2 separate regions of the Homo sapiens genome follow, and region 1 is linked to region 2. The links are contacts of gene promoters, found by promoter capture Hi-C in blood cells and fetal thymus (Javierre and others, 2016). All regions are on one chromosome and are shown on one strand. Each heading gives the region's core, a stretch centred on a gene start or on the middle of the fragment in contact. The rest is flanking DNA. Distances are from core to core; before and after follow the strand shown.

Region 1 (7,409 bases), core at 679-3,178, about 31 Mb before region 2:
AGTAAAGGAGGAATACGATGGCCGAGCCACAGGGCCCGGGGTGCCGGGACCGCGGCGCCGCAGAGCCGACCGCCACCCGCTCTCAGCAAACGACATGGCGCGAAACACAACGAAACCCGCGGAGAACGAGCCTCTCCCACCTGCCCCGCCCCGGGTCCGCAACAGCCAATCCGCGGCAGTGGCCGCTACCACCAGGCCTCAGAGCCCAGGGGTAAACCACGGAGAGCAAGGGTGGGCGGCGGGTTGCAAAGGAAGCCGCAGGGCCAAAGGAGAGGCGGAATGCGCTTCGACCAGAGCTCGACCCCAGGGCTGTAGCCGGAAAGGGGAGCAGGAAAGCGCGCAGGGAGAAGCGAGCGGAGGCCGAAGGCTGTCGAGTATCCACTCCCTGCGGGGCTTCGTCCCGGCCGGAGACCTCCGCCACCCCCGCGTCACCAACGGGAGCGCGCGCCCCGACAGCCCCAAAGCCTCATCTTTTCGACGCCGGGTCCTAGCGCCCGCTCGCGCCCTCGGAGACACATTCCCGAACCTATTTGTCTTCTCCCTTCTTCCCCACTACGCTCACACTCTTCTCCAGGTTCCCCCATTAAGGGCACCTCTCTACCTGGCGCTCTCGCGGTTCCTTAACTGCTCACCCCCATCTCCCTTTAGTGTGGTTCTCCCCACCCGTACTACAACTTCCCTCCCGCTACTCGACACGCCTCCTTCCCCAGGCGCGCGCTCTCCACCTGGTGCGTACGGAGATCGAACCCTCTCCTCCGAACCCCTCCTTTCGCCTTCCCCGCCTCCTCCCCTCCGCCTCGAGCACCGCGCGCGCGCATTCGGTCCCAGCCACCGCTAACACTACAGGCTGCTTACCCCCGCCCCCTCCACCCTACCCCTGGCGGCCTCAGGTTTGTGGGGCGTACGTAACTCGGGCGGGGAGGGTGAAGGTGGCAGACCCCCACTGCCCCACCCCCTACGGGGTGAGGCGGTCTAAGCTCGGGAAGCTGGGACACTGTTGTCTTCCCTTCCCCTGGGGAAGTTGGTAGAGTTTTCCCGACGGAGGACTCGGCGCAGAAACTTCCTCCGTCCTCCTCCTCCCCCCCCCCCATGCAGGCGACGCCGAGTGAGGCTGAGGCTGGGGGCGAATCGCCGCAGAGCTGCGTGTCGGCGGCGCATTCTGATTGGACAGCGGGGAAGCCCGTCAGCCTGTTGGCCCCGCTGATCCCGCCCCGTAGCGCAGGGCAGCCTTTAACCTTTAGCCCCAGTGGGCGCCAGCCACTCAGATCGCTTCTTGTTGGTATGTGTAGCGGCAGTGGCCGCCGGCGGAGCAGTCTGAGCCCGACGATGAGGCCGGGGACGGGAGCTGAGCGTGGAGGCCTCATGGTGAGTGAAATGGAGAGCCATCCTCCCTCGCAGGGTCCTGGGGACGGGGAGCGGAGATTGTCCGGCTCAAGCCTCTGCTCCGGCTCTTGGGTCTCTGCTGACGGCTTCCTGAGGAGACGGCCCTCGGTAAGGGATCAGTGGGGCAGGGGGAAGGCGGCACAATGAAAAACGGAGTGAGAAACAGGAAGCTTTCTCCGAAAGGAGAAGAAGATAAGAGTGGACGAAGGAAGAACTCGAGATGGTGGGATATGTTCTGAGGGAGAGAAGTGGAGGGTGGAAATGCACAAAGAGAAGGATGTGAGACCCTGGAAGTTCCCCGTGGGCTTGGCCTAGACAGATGCGTGGTGAAGGTGCTGGCTCTTGGGCGGGGTGAGCGTCTTGGAGCTTTAGGCCCGATTTTAGCTGGGAGGGGGAGGCAGGGGCTTGATACTGTAAGACTTTAACAGCGGCTGCCAAAATTTGTTTTCATTAGTCGTCGGGGTGGTCTGCAGGGGGAACTGTTGGGACAATTGGCAGGAGATAATTAGGTGGTTTTAATTTAAAACATAGAACAATGGACTCATCGGTAAAGAAAGTAGTTGTCTTTTTAAACTGCGTTAAAAAGGATGAATTAGTTGTTTGCATTTAGTGTCCGTGAGTGACAGAACCTCAGTCTTTGAAAATGTATTTTTGGCAGAAGGAATTTTACCTGTCTTAAAGGTTATGTTAGGAAATAAGTTTGTTAGGAGTGAATTGTGCCTGGGTAGCCATACTGTTTGTGTTTTGTAAGACCGACTCTCACCTGAGTTAATTGGATAGAGCATTTTAAAGTTTAAAATCAGTAGTGTTATAAAATAACAATAGCTGGCTATCTTTTATATCTGCATGAAATAGGAGAGTTGTTGTTTTCACCATAACAGTTTTAAAATTAGTATTCAATGTGTATCCTCCAAGCTTAGCAAGCCAATTAGTAGCTGGTTAAGTCAGTGCTTAAAAAAAAGAGAGAGAAAACCTATGATCCAGCGGTCCAGGATTCATCTTAACTTTTCCCATTTTTTTACGGAATTTGCAAGCTCGTTTTAAATACTAGCAGAATGCGTTTTGTTTGAAACAAGGTATAGACTAATCCAATGATGTTATTACACATAAGCTTAATATTATGTCGCTTCAGATAACTGATCTGTTGAAATGAGATTTTTGAGAAGCATTTAGTATTATTTGCTCATTTAAAAATGTTCACTGTTTTTCAGATGGGGCACCCTGGCATGCATTATGCCCCAATGGGAATGCACCCTATGGGTCAGAGAGCGAATATGCCTCCTGTACCTCATGGAATGATGCCGCAGATGATGCCCCCTATGGGAGGGCCACCAATGGGACAAGTAAGACTGTTTTTGTTTTATTTTGCATTTATTTATTTGTTTTTGCCTCAGGTATTCTATCAAGATTTCAGAATCTAGGTCAGTAGTTATAGCTGTTTAATGATTAGTTTATGCCCGAATAATTTCAAATAAGCCAAATGTTAAATCATGACTGTAACGGAAATTTGAATAATGGAAAAGTCTTCTGAGAAATTTAAATAATGAAAAAGTCTTCTGAGAAATTTACTGATGACCTCAAAACTAAGAATTTTTTTCTTTATTATTTAAAAGTAAAGTGTGGATCCAGGCTTTTATTTTTAATGATTATTTTTTCAAGAATGCCAATTGAAGTTGATGGTCTAAGTAAATATTATCTGATACAGCAACATAACTGATTTTGGTAGACCATGTAAATAAATAGAATCTGAAAATAGCTATTGTTTTGGTTTAGAGCGAATTTTATTCCTGAAATATCTTCCTCTTTGTGTGTTGGAGGAGGGTGAGGGAGGGTGGGGAGTTTGTGCTCTATAATTCTGATTCTTCATAGGACAGTGCCAATAGGTAGTTCATTTTCCACTTATACTATTTTTTTTTAATGCTTGTTGCTTCTACACTCCTGCTTATGAGCTGTCCCTTCCATCTCTAGCATAAATTGTAAATGGACATTTTGTAGGAGTGATTTGGATCAAAAGGTTTTAATGCTGATTCAGTGATTTCGGTAGAACTGAGTTTCTAGAGAAGCATCCAAGAAAGGTAACAGGTTCAGTTACCATGAGTAATTTTGTGCTTCATGTTAAGTTCTATAATAGATCTTTAGGTGGCTGGGTTATTTCCATTTGAGTATTTCCATAAATCATCAAAAATTTAGGCTAACAAAATATTTTGGAAGCCAATTTCATGTGATCTTTTGCTAATTAGTACTGTTTGATAATTGTTTAAGCTTTCATGGTTAAAGTTATTGGTGAAATTGCAGTGGGAAAAGGAGCTTGCTATGTGTCTGTCTCTTTTTACTTAACCTTAAGAGTAGAAGGGCTTAATGTCCAGTGATTTTCCTCTTTTTTTTTTTAATTTGGAATATTGCCCTTAATTTTGTTAAAAAACAAAACAAAACCTTTATTCAAAGGCACCAGCCCCAAAAGATTCTGCTTGCAGGAGTTCTTTAAATAAAAGAGCCTTTTATTCTGTTACTCTAGAATAACACAAATTTTAAAACTCTCTAGGTGATGGAGAAACAACTTTGATTCCTCTTCTGTTTCTTTCCATCTCTAAGGAGCAAGGAGCTCTTCTTGTTTTCTTGGTAGAGCTGCTCTAACTAGATAATGAGCTTTAAAAATATTTATTCTTTAAATGCTCTGGTTCTTATTTAAAATTAGTTTCTTTCCACAGAAAGATAAAATAAAACAATTTGCTACTGCCAGATGCTTCTCTCTTTTCTGGGGCCTTCTGTTTCCATTGGGCCAATCAAGGTAAGTTTTGCAAGGGATTGACCTGCTTACCCTTGCTGTAATGGTGCTATTGCACTACCAAAACCAAGATACCAGCTAGTCATAGTTCTAGTTAAAAAAAAAAATGCAGATTTTATTTTTTAAAAGTACTTTCATGTATCTCATTGACATAAGCTGGTCACAGTTTGCTTTATGGCCCTTTCTCTTTAGCTGTATCAGTGACCATCTTTCTAGTAAGTTTACTTGCTACTCGGTACACATCCATTCAAATAACTGATTTTTTTGGTGTGGTTTTCTTCTACTTTTTCCTAGGCTAATATATGCCACGTGCCTTTAAGTAGACCTAATTATTTAGATGTTTAGAATTCTTCTCCCTCTGAAGGCTCCTGTTAGTATAATAAATAAATGTTTTAGTAGGAGTTATGCCCTGAAAGTCCCAAAAGAATCTCCGCTGTTTTTGTCAGAATTATATAATTCCCTTTTATCCCCTTAATATTTCACTAACAAATATGGGTCCCAAATCTTGGTAAAACAAATTCTTGTTTTAGCTTTATAACAGACTGGGAGAGCATGGATAATTTGAATTCTCAAATCAGAAATCATATTTGAAACTCTGTAAACATTGCTTTAAAAATTAAAGGTGATAATAAATAGGACAATTGATCCTTTTTCCTGCATTATTTCTTCTGCCACTCTTGGAAGTACTCAGGAGGAATAAGTGGTCAGAAGATAATTGAGAAGAAGCAGGATGTCTGTCTGTATCATTCACAGTAGTGACAGTTGGGAGGGTTCTGCCATGCAATTTAAAAAAGTCAGTTCACAAATTCTTTAGACTTTGGGACTGAAGGTTATAAAAACCTTCATGTGTTGACTGGTTTGCATGAACATCTCATGCTGGGACTAGCTAAAGACTAAAATTGGTGGCAGTCTTACTTGCCAAATAATTGTGGTCTTTGGAATGTTACCAATATGACATGAAACTGTAAAACTTGTTTGTAAAATAATATGCAGACTGGGTAGCATAATGATGTACGGAAGCCAGGGTTCATAATTTCTCAAATGCATCAAGCTATTTAGCTTAAAGAAGTGGTGTGTTCAAATTTTTTTTTTCTTAATTCATGAGATGACCTAGAGTGCCATCTCATGCATTTAGGCTGACTCTTAGTAGTAATAAATATTTGATGATTATCAAATTGAGCTTAATATTCTTTCAGGTTTATTTCAGTTTTCTATCTTGTAGATTAAATTTGCCTCTTATTCTATATAACTTTATAGGAAAGTCATACTTTTAGAGTTATAGGATCTTATAGCTGAAAGGGACCTTACAGGTTGTTTAAGCTTTAAATAATATGTGATTTAAGATGCTTTGAGGATCACTGGTTAAATGTTAGTAAAGAAAGATAAAGAATTTTCCCTGCTGGATGGCAGTACTCAAAAATTTCCCATTGGGAGGCTGAGGCGGGTGCATCGCTTGAGCTCAGGAGTTGGAGACCAGCCTGGGCAACATGGTGAAACCCCATCTCTACAAAAACTATTTAAAAATAAGCTGGGTGTGGTGGTGTGCGTCTGTCGTCCCAGCTACTTAGGGGGCTGAGGCAGAAGGATTGCTTGAACCTGGGAGGTCGAGGCTGCAGTGAGTCAAGATCACGCCTTGCACTCCATCCTGGGTGACAAAGTGAGACCCTATCTCAAAAAAATAAAGATTTTCTGTAGAGATTTCTATCAATAAAATTATGTGTGAGGCTGTCTTCTTCCTCAGTGTCCATAGTAAATACTGTTTTCATGTCTTTTGTGTTTTCTACACAAAGGACATGCAGGTCCTGCCATCTTTATCACAGATGATTATGCCTTTGCCCCAGAGTCATGCTAGCTGGCTCTTTTTTTTTCCTCCCTATTTGAGTCTTTATTTTCCTCTATCAGTGAGAAGAGTAGAGTAATTGAGTTAAGGTCCCTTTCAGCTCTAACATCCTATGATTCAGTTCAGATCATTTGATAAGAGTAGATATCAGATTTTATGGGATGATATGGAAAGAACAGAAAATTCCTTTAGTAATGCCTCCCTAATTCTATTTATTCAGTGCTTTTTTTTTTTGGTCTTTGGTCAGTAAACTGATAAATGAATAATTGCTTTTTACAAATGAGTTTGATTTTCTTGCTCCTATATTGAGTAAGGCTGGCTCTAATAGATCTTATTTTATTTCAGTTCCTGCTACCACATGAGCCCAAGTCGTCACTCTCCCATGCCTAGGTTATTCAACAGTTTTTGAGTTGAGTTGGTTTTCTTGCTTCAAGGATGCCCCCCTGCCCCCACAAATTTTAGATTTCAATGTGTTATCTCCTTGCCCAAGAATCTCCAGTACTTTCAGTGCCTATAACATAGTATCTAAATTCCACAGCTTAACTTTAAAGAACCTCCCCATAGTACATGTCAAAGCAGGATTCAAGGCTGCATGTCTTTACACTCCCTAATTTGAACTTAGGCTGGTCTTTTCACGGTGTCTTGAGTGATTATATTAGTTCACAACTTCAAACTTAGGCTGTTCTTCTTACCCTCCTGCCCCCAGCTCAGTATCACCATGAAGTTTGCTTTGCTTACCTATGTTGTACTATTTCAAGTCCTGCCTTCTCCAAAAGTTTCTCAAAAATGACTTTTGCCAACATATACCTCCCCTTCAGATTATTAAAGAAAATATTTGTAATCTACCCATAACTCTTACCGTTTCACTTATTTTGGCACCTAGTTATTGACTTGTTTTATGGTTTCTTAATTTGCTTTAATTTTCCAACAAGTAATAGATTGTAAGCTCTTAGAGGGCAGGGGCTATGTTCTGTACTTTTTAAGAAGCCTATAGGTGCTGAGCACAGTTCTTGGCACATCATGGGTGCTCAGTAAAATACTTGTTGAATGAATGAAACAAATACACAGGTATTCTTTCCTGCAGTATAAGCCCATAAGTCAGTCAGTGTTAAATGTGACTGTTTCCAGTGGTTACTTGTGACTTTACGTTGTTACTACTTATTCTTGTTTTTAGTGTCTGCCTCTTTACTCTTACTTTTTCATTTGACAAAAATGGAAGATAAATAAGATGAAATAAATAATTTTTGTTTGGAGAATAAAACTAAAATATTTCCATTTGCAGTCGACCCTCTGTATCCAGAGATTCAAGCAACTGCGATGGAAAATAGTCTTTAAAAAAGCAACAACAAAAAAATACAAATTTTTAAAAATAAAGTATAATAACTTTTATAGCATTTACAT
Region 2 (7,616 bases), core at 2,540-5,039:
GATAACTTACCACAAACGGAAAGGCTTAAAACAACAGAAACATATTCTCTCACAATTGTGGATGCTGGTGGCAGCATCACTCCAACTTCTGCTTTGCCCATCACATGGCATTCTGCATATGTGCACGCCCAAAATGCTCTCTTCTCATAGGACACTAGTCACGGTTTACAGCTAACGCAAACCCAACAGGACCTCATCTTTGTTTTGTTTTGTTTTGAGACAGAATCTTGCTCTGTCGCCAGGCTGGAGTACAATGGCACAATCTCGGCTCACTGCAACCTCTGCCTCCCAGGTTCAAGCGGTTCTCCCACCGCAGCCTCCCGAGTAGCTGGGATTACAGGCACATGCCACCACGCTTGGCTAATTTTTGTATTTTTAGTAGAGACAGAGTTTCACCATGTTGGCCAGGCTAGTCTCGAACTCTTGACCTCAAGTGATCTGCCCGCCTCAGCCTCCAAAAGTGCTGGGATTACAGGCGTGAGCCACCGTGCCCGGTCATGACCTCATCTTAATGTGATTCCATCCTCAAAGACTCTCCAAGTACAGTCTCATTCACATGTACCCATGTACCAGCGATTAGGACTTGAACAAATCTTTTGAGGGTGACAGAATACATTCTGTCCCAGAATTCTGACCCAGTAATCAATGCCACAAATCTCTATTCCTGCTTCGGAGTGTGGTCTATGGAGTATCGGCCTCTTCTGGAAGCTTGTTAGGAACACAGAACCTGGGCCACCTCAGACCTACTGAATCAGCACCTGCCTGGTGCAGGCAATCCACATGCTCATTCAAGTTTGAGAAGCCTTGGATCACTACCCCCCTGGGGGGATGTAAGGCAAGACCAGGAACTCATAGAGGTGGAGGTGACTGGGAATACCTGAAAAAGGATTTCCATAGAGAAGTGCTTGCCGTCATTCCTTCCTGTATCCTCATCTCCCCTAAGTAGCTATGAGACATGTCAAGATTCCACCTTCAGGAAGGAGGGGAGTGTTCACACACACACACACACACACACACGCACACACACACGAGGACACGGATGGTACCTTCAGGGAACCAGTGAACTTATCTACATCCTCTGGAATTTGGGGGATACAGGGATTGTACCTGGTTTATACACCAACATCTGTGATGCCAGCCAGGAGGCCTGCCTGGCAGCAATCCCATGGCAGTGACAGACAAAACATGTGGCCCTTCTTAAAGGATCAGGATGATAAAGTCCACTTGGAAAGGCCCTTCCAGGAGGAGCCTCTGGGCACAGAGCTGACCTCGGCTGGCAGGCAGGTAGAGTCATGAGCAGCCAGGTGAGGGACACCTCAAAAGTGTGCTTGGAGACAAGGTGCCAGCAACCTGGCATTTGCAGCCTCTAAAACTCCCTGGCCACGTGGCACCTGCCAGCAAGGAGCCCCTTTCTGCTTTCTCCTCCCTCTCTTCCCTGTCCTAATCCTGGAAAGCCCAAAAACAGAAACTGGGGTGTACAGAGAAAGTGGAGCCAAGAATAAAGACGATGTGGACTGTGCTCCCCTTTGGGGATTTCTCTGCCAGAGACACTGAGCTGGGGAGAGGAGACATTTGATATTAGATTTTGAACGCGTGGAACATGCTTCTATTGACTGACATCTGAGGAGCAATCACAAGTGCGGAGCTCTCCCCAAGATTTCATCCTGGGGGGAGCAAGAACAAGCCCATGGAAAGGGGCAGCCCTGAAAAAGAATCAAATTGCTCTTGCTCGCTCACTCCCGAAAATCCAGCCTACCCATGAAAACACAATGGGAAGACAGCGCTTAACTGGAAGAACTGACTTTGCTACAGGGTCAGGGATGCCCCCTTGGGGGTGACGGTGGCGCTGAGCCGGAGGGTGCAGGGGTGAAGGAGGCGAAGACTGTGAGCGTGGGAGGCACGTCTGTCAGAGGAAGTGGGCTGGCCTCGCTTGGCACTCCCTCCCAGGGCCTCCACCTCAGGCCCACAGGCCACTCTTCGGGCACACACACCCTGGGCCGCCTTCACGGCTTCCAGAACACGGCCGCAGCTATCCCCTGACACCAGCTGTGCTTGATCTGTCGCTCTCGCCTCACCTCCCTGCTTCCTCGGCAATCCACTCCCCACCCTTCCTCTCCACTCAGTTACTCACTAGTATAATAGTATTTGAAAGGTACAAACAGGCCGGGTGCGGTGGCTCACGCCTGTAATCCCAGCACTTTGGGAGGCCGAGGCGGGTAGATCACTTAAGGTCAGGGGTTCTCGACCAGCCTGGCCAAAATGGCGAAACCTCGTTTCTACTAAAAATACAAAAATTAGCCGGGAGTAGTGGTGTGCACCTGTAGTCCCAGCTAGTCGGGAGGCTGAGGAAGGAGAATTGCTTGAACCCAGGAGGCGGAGGTTGCAGTGAGTGAGCCAAAATCGCGCCACTGCACTCCAGCCTGGACGACAGAACGAGACTCCGTCTCAAAAAAAAAAAAAGAAAAGAAAGATGCAAACAGCCACAGCCTCGCTTTAAACCCGCCCATCCCCTCGCATTTACAAAACCCCAGTTTCATACTTTGACACACAGTCATGGGGCTCCAGCCTGCCGCCTCGCAGCTCTTCCCTCCTGTGCTGGGCTCCAACCCCACTGCCGCGTCCTTCTTTCTAGACCTAGGAACACTGTGCAGGCCTGTCCGGTCCAGCGGACGGCAGGCGCTCGGTTCTCCACACCCCGCTCTTTAGCCTTCAGGCCTCGGTGCTAACGCCACCTCCTAAGGGGGACCCTCCGGCGCCACCCAGTGTGCCTCTCCCCCACAAGCCTCTTTGGTCTCTTAAAGCAGCCATGCTGCCCTCAGGCTGTAAGTTCTCCAAGGGCCGCGGACGGACGGGGCCACACAGGAGAGCTCACACACAAGTGAGTGAAAGAATAACCAAATTAGGGCCGGGCGCGGTGGCTCACGCCTGTTATCCCAGTACTTTGGGAGGCTGAGGCGGGTGGATCACCTGAGGTCAGGAGTTCGAGACCAGCCTGGCCAACATGGTGAAACCCCGTTTCTACTAAACATACAAATTAAGCTGGGAGTGGTAACGTACAAATTAAGCTGGGAGTGGTGGCGGGCGCCTGTAATCAGCTACTCGGAAGACTGAGGCAGGAGAATCGCTTGAACCCGGGAGGCGGAAGTTGGAAGTTGCAGTGAGCCGAGATTGCGCCATTGCACTCCAGCCTGGGCAACCAAAGCGAAACTCTGTCTCAAAAAAAAATAATAATAATAATAAGCAAATTGAGGAATGAGAGCAGCATCTCAAGGACACAGGTACTGTTTTGGAATTTATTTTAGACCTTTTTTGAAAGTAGGCGTGAACGTAATTGTTTCAGGCACTCTTAAGCGAAGCCAGCCGGCGCCCCGACAGCCGAGGGTGCGGGAGCTCCCCACGGCCCAGCCCCAGCCCCAGACCCCGCTGCCGCGCCTCGGCACGCCCCTGCGCCCCGCCTCCGCGCCTCGGCGCTACTCACGCCCCGCCCTCCGCTCCTCGTCACGCCCCATGTCGCGCCTCCGCGCGACTCACGCCTCTCCCAGTCTCTCGGCACGACCTCGTGCCCCGCCCTCGCCCCTGGCGCAATTTATGCCCCGCCCCGCGCCTCGCCACACCCCGTGCCCCGCCCCCGCTTCTCCGGGCAACTCCTGCTCCAACCCCGCGCCCGACTCATGGCCCTCCCCGCCCCTCGCCACGCCTCGCCTCGCCTTAGCGCTTCGCCCCGCCCCTGTCCTGCCTCTACTTCCGCCTCGGGGGAGCTGGGAGCCCGACGTTTCCGGGAGCGCCGCGTGGTTAGCGTCGGCGGCTTTTGGCATGGCGACTTTTTCTGGCCCGGCTGGGCCAATCCTGTCGCTTAATCCGCAGGAAGATGTCGAGTTTCAAAAGGAGGTGGCGCAGGTTCGCAAGCGCATAACCCAGGTGAGCAGGCACCCTGGCCCAGGCTGCGAGCGGGGGCGATGGACCGGGTCTAGAGGGTATCTGGGGTTGCACGGTTTCCGGCCCGGGCGCCCCTTGCCTTCGTGCTCGCCTTCATTACCTCCAGGGTCTCCCAAGTGGATTCGACCGAATCAGGGACCGACCTCTTAAGCTTGCAGGCCACGGTTTCCGAGACGAAAGGGTTTACGCTGTTCGGTAAATGATGGAGGGGTTTGGCCGCTGAGGCCCTGGAGCCTTCATGTGGAGGGTAACGGGGAAGTATTGGGGTGACAGAAGCAGTAGAAAGAACCAGCTGGAGGGAATAGGCTCCTATACCACAGGTTATCTCCGGGTTAGAGCTGTCACGCTTCCGCGTTTCCCCCAAAAATGGGAGCCCCAGACTTAACACATTCGGGAAGTTTGTATGCCGGGTTGGTGATCTGGGAGTTATTAAAATAGAGTATTTGCCAGGTTCCACTTGCTGACTAGGGCCCCTGACATCGCTTATACTTTCTGTGGTTTTTAGCATAAAATACACAGGAAAACTTAGAAGTTCCTGTTACAGAGGTAAGGCTATGATGACTGAGACGTTGAAAGGCTAATCTGTACCGTGAGAGTTAACAAGCGTATCGAAAATTTTTCGATGAAGTGCGAGTAAACAGTAATATGCATACCAAATTGAAGCCTACGTTTATGTAGAGTTCTCTGGGCAGAAGATCTAAAATGGCTTGTTCAAAGATGTCCTTGCTTATCCGTTGATTGACATAGTTATTGAGCTCTAATATTATACTGGGTGCTGGGATGCCAGGCTGGAAAGATAGTTGACTACTGCTTGACCATGGCCTTTGTGGGGAGAGAAACACTAAACAGCCAGTTCTTTAATTACTACTGTGGTAAGTGGAAATGCAGAATAGGTTCTTGGGCCGAGGGCTAGGGGTTTTGTTACAATGTGATTTTCTTATTTATATATTTAATTTACCTGGTCTTTACGTCTTTAGCGAAAAAAACAAGAACAACTTACTCCTGGAGTAGTCTATGTGCGCCACCTACCTAACCTACTTGACGAAACCCAGATCTTTTCATATTTCTCCCAGTTTGGCACTGTGACACGGTTCAGGCTGTCCAGAAGTAAAAGGGTAAGATTTTTGCAGTTGGATTTAATGTTTTGTTTTTCAAATGTGTATTATCCTTGACATTAAAGAGCACGTTCACGCATACATTATTGCTTATCAGATTTCATTCCAAAAAGGAGAGTGGAGGAGGTTTAGAATCTGAAACAGCTACAGGAGCAAAATCAGTATTATTGTAAAAGTTTGTTTTTTACATTTCTCCAAATCCTTACATTAAATTGACAGTCCTGGTAAATGAGCTTTAGTATGAGGCCCAGGTTTATACATTTTCTTGTGTTAGCCTTTGGTACAAGCATCCTTATAATAGCAAAGGTTTATATAGTGAATAGTTAAAGGTGAGGACTCTGGAGTTGGACTGCTGAGGTTTGGGGTCAGGCTCTACACCTTACTAGTTAGAGTGATATGACCTTACCATGTTTCAGTGTTGTGATCTGTTAAATATAAGTAAAACTTCCTGGGAGTATTTAGTCAAAGGTTAAATATAAAGTCTTTAGAGGATTGCTTGGTACACAATAAACACTATATAAGTATAATTACTATTTGTGTCATACCTGCCTTCTAATGAGAAAACGCTTTACATAGCTTGTTTCAATAGTGGAGGAGTGACCCACTTTCTTTTCTTTCCCCGCACATAAACTTTAATTGGTTGTAGCCATAGACACCTATTTGATTTAGCATGTGGGGGATAGGGTGCACATCCATCATCTGTTAGTTGTCGTAAAGATAGATTGTAGGTAGAATTGAGGTCCCTTTTGTACCCTTCCCAGTGCTCTTCAACTTCTTTAATTAGGGAATTAAATTCACAAATTCAGTTTTCTTTTTTTTGAGACTGAGGCTTGCACTGTCGCCCGGGCTGGAGTGCAGTGGTACAATCTCAGCTCACTGCAACCTCCGCTTCCCGGGTTCAAGCAATTCTCCTTGCGTCACCTTCCCAAGTAGCTGGGATTACAGGCGCCTGCCACCATGCCTGGCTAATTTTTTGTGTGTTTTACTAGAGACGGGGTTTCACTATGTTGGCCAGGCTGGTCTCGAACTCCTGACCTTGTGATCCTCCCGCCTCGGCCTCCCAAAGTGCTGAGATTACAGGCGTGAGCCAGTGCGCCCGGCCACAAATTCAGTTTTCATTGCTATATATAAGTTTTTACTATATATATATGTACTAGAATACATATGTGTACATATATAAATGTACATATGGTATTATTTTAAAATTATATTACTCTATCATTCTTCAGCTGAATTTTTGTATTCAATAATCTGAGCTTTATCCATGTAACTCTATTGCCTTTGTTATCATCATTGCTCATTACTTAGGTTACTAAAGTTTATCCACCCTCCTATTGAACATTAGGTTTTGTTTTGGGGGGCGATCTCGGCTCACTGCAACCTCTGCCTCCCAGATTCAAGTGATTCTCTTTCCTCACCCTCCTGAGTGGCTGGGATTACAGGTACCGGCCACTGCACCTGGCTAATTTTTGTATTTTTAGTAGAAACAGTGTTTCTACTAAACACTGTTTTGGCCAGGCTGGTCTCAAACTCCTGACCTCAGATGATCCGCCCACCTCGGCCTCCCAAGGTACTGGGATTACAAGCATGAGCGAGCCACTGTGCCCAGCCCGAACATTAGGTTTTTTAATATTTTTAACTCTTTAGATTAAGCTGCTAGGAACAATCTTTGTACAGGTATAGGCAGAATTTTCTAGAAGAGTATTTTGCAGACTTTGGCTCACAATAAGAGGTAAGTTTTTACCATCACAAAGAAGATGAGGGTTTTAAAAAAAGTTTTACAGCACAAACCAGCACACATACATATGCATGTAAGCATAACTGAAATAAAAGCCAAATGAGACAATATTTAAACTTGTTTTGTGTGATGCGCTGATTTTCTATTTCATTCTATTCATTTTTTTTTTGTTTTGTTTTGGTTTTGTTTTGTTTGCGACGGAGTCTCACTCTGTCGCCCGGGCTGGAGTGCAGTGGCACAGTTCCTCAGCTGACTGCGATGTCCGCCTCCCGGATTCAAGTGATTCTCCTGCCCCAGCCTCCCGAGTAGCTGGGATTATAGGTGCCTGCCACCATGCCTGGCTAATTTTTTTTTTTTTTTTAAATGGAGTCTCACTCTGTTGCCCAGGCTGGAGTGCAGTGGCACAGTCTTGGCTCACTGCACCCTCAGCCTCTCGGATTCAAGTGATTCTCCTGCCTCAGCCTCCTGAATAGCTGGGATTATAGGCGTGCACCACCACACCCAGCTAATTTTTGTATTTTTAGTAGAGATGGGGTTTCACCATATTGGTCAGGATGATTTTGAGCTCCCAATCTCAGGTGATCCACCTGCCTCGGCCTCCCAAAGTGTGGGGATTACAGGTGTGAGCCACTGTGCCCGGCCTAATTTTTGTATTTTTAGTAGAGACACGGTTTCACCATTTTGGCCAGGCTGGTCTCGAACTCCTGACCTCAGGTGATCCACCCACCTCGGCCTCCTGGAGTGCTGGGATTACAGGCATGAGCCACCCCTCTTGGCCTAGTTTTTCTTTTTTGAGATGGAGTCTTATTCTGTTGCCCAGGCTGGAG

Evidence for each region. Contacts are between HindIII fragments. The CHiCAGO score rates a contact against its expected background, and 5 or more counts as called.
Region 1: a contact is called between a fragment that was not itself captured here and the fragment with the promoter of NIFK in region 2, in 1 of 17 cell types (fetal thymus). The highest score is 5.3, in fetal thymus.

The regions. Positions count from the first base shown.
Region 1 is chr2:152,711,312-152,718,720 of GRCh38, reverse strand. PRPF40A (pre-mRNA processing factor 40A) reads left to right here and starts at 1,260. Exons shown (of 26, transcript NM_001365597.4): 1 at 1,260-1,491; 2 at 2,595-2,726. The coding sequence starts at 1,282. It overlaps ARL6IP6 (ARF like GTPase 6 interacting protein 6), which reads right to left and starts at 101. Exons shown (of 4, transcript NM_152522.7): 1 at 1-101. The coding sequence starts at 96. RefSeq lists enhancers at 1-130, 361-450, 471-540, 7-712, 1,261-1,560 and a silencer at 761-860. The HindIII fragment of the contact is 745 bases long and covers 1,556-2,300 here.
Region 2 is chr2:121,733,048-121,740,663 of GRCh38, reverse strand. It overlaps NIFK (nucleolar protein interacting with the FHA domain of MKI67), which reads left to right and starts at 3,789. Exons shown (of 7, transcript NM_032390.5): 1 at 3,789-3,918; 2 at 4,914-5,051. The coding sequence starts at 3,814. RefSeq lists a silencer at 3,303-3,752 and an enhancer at 3,853-3,902. The HindIII fragment of the contact is 3,379 bases long and covers 711-4,089 here.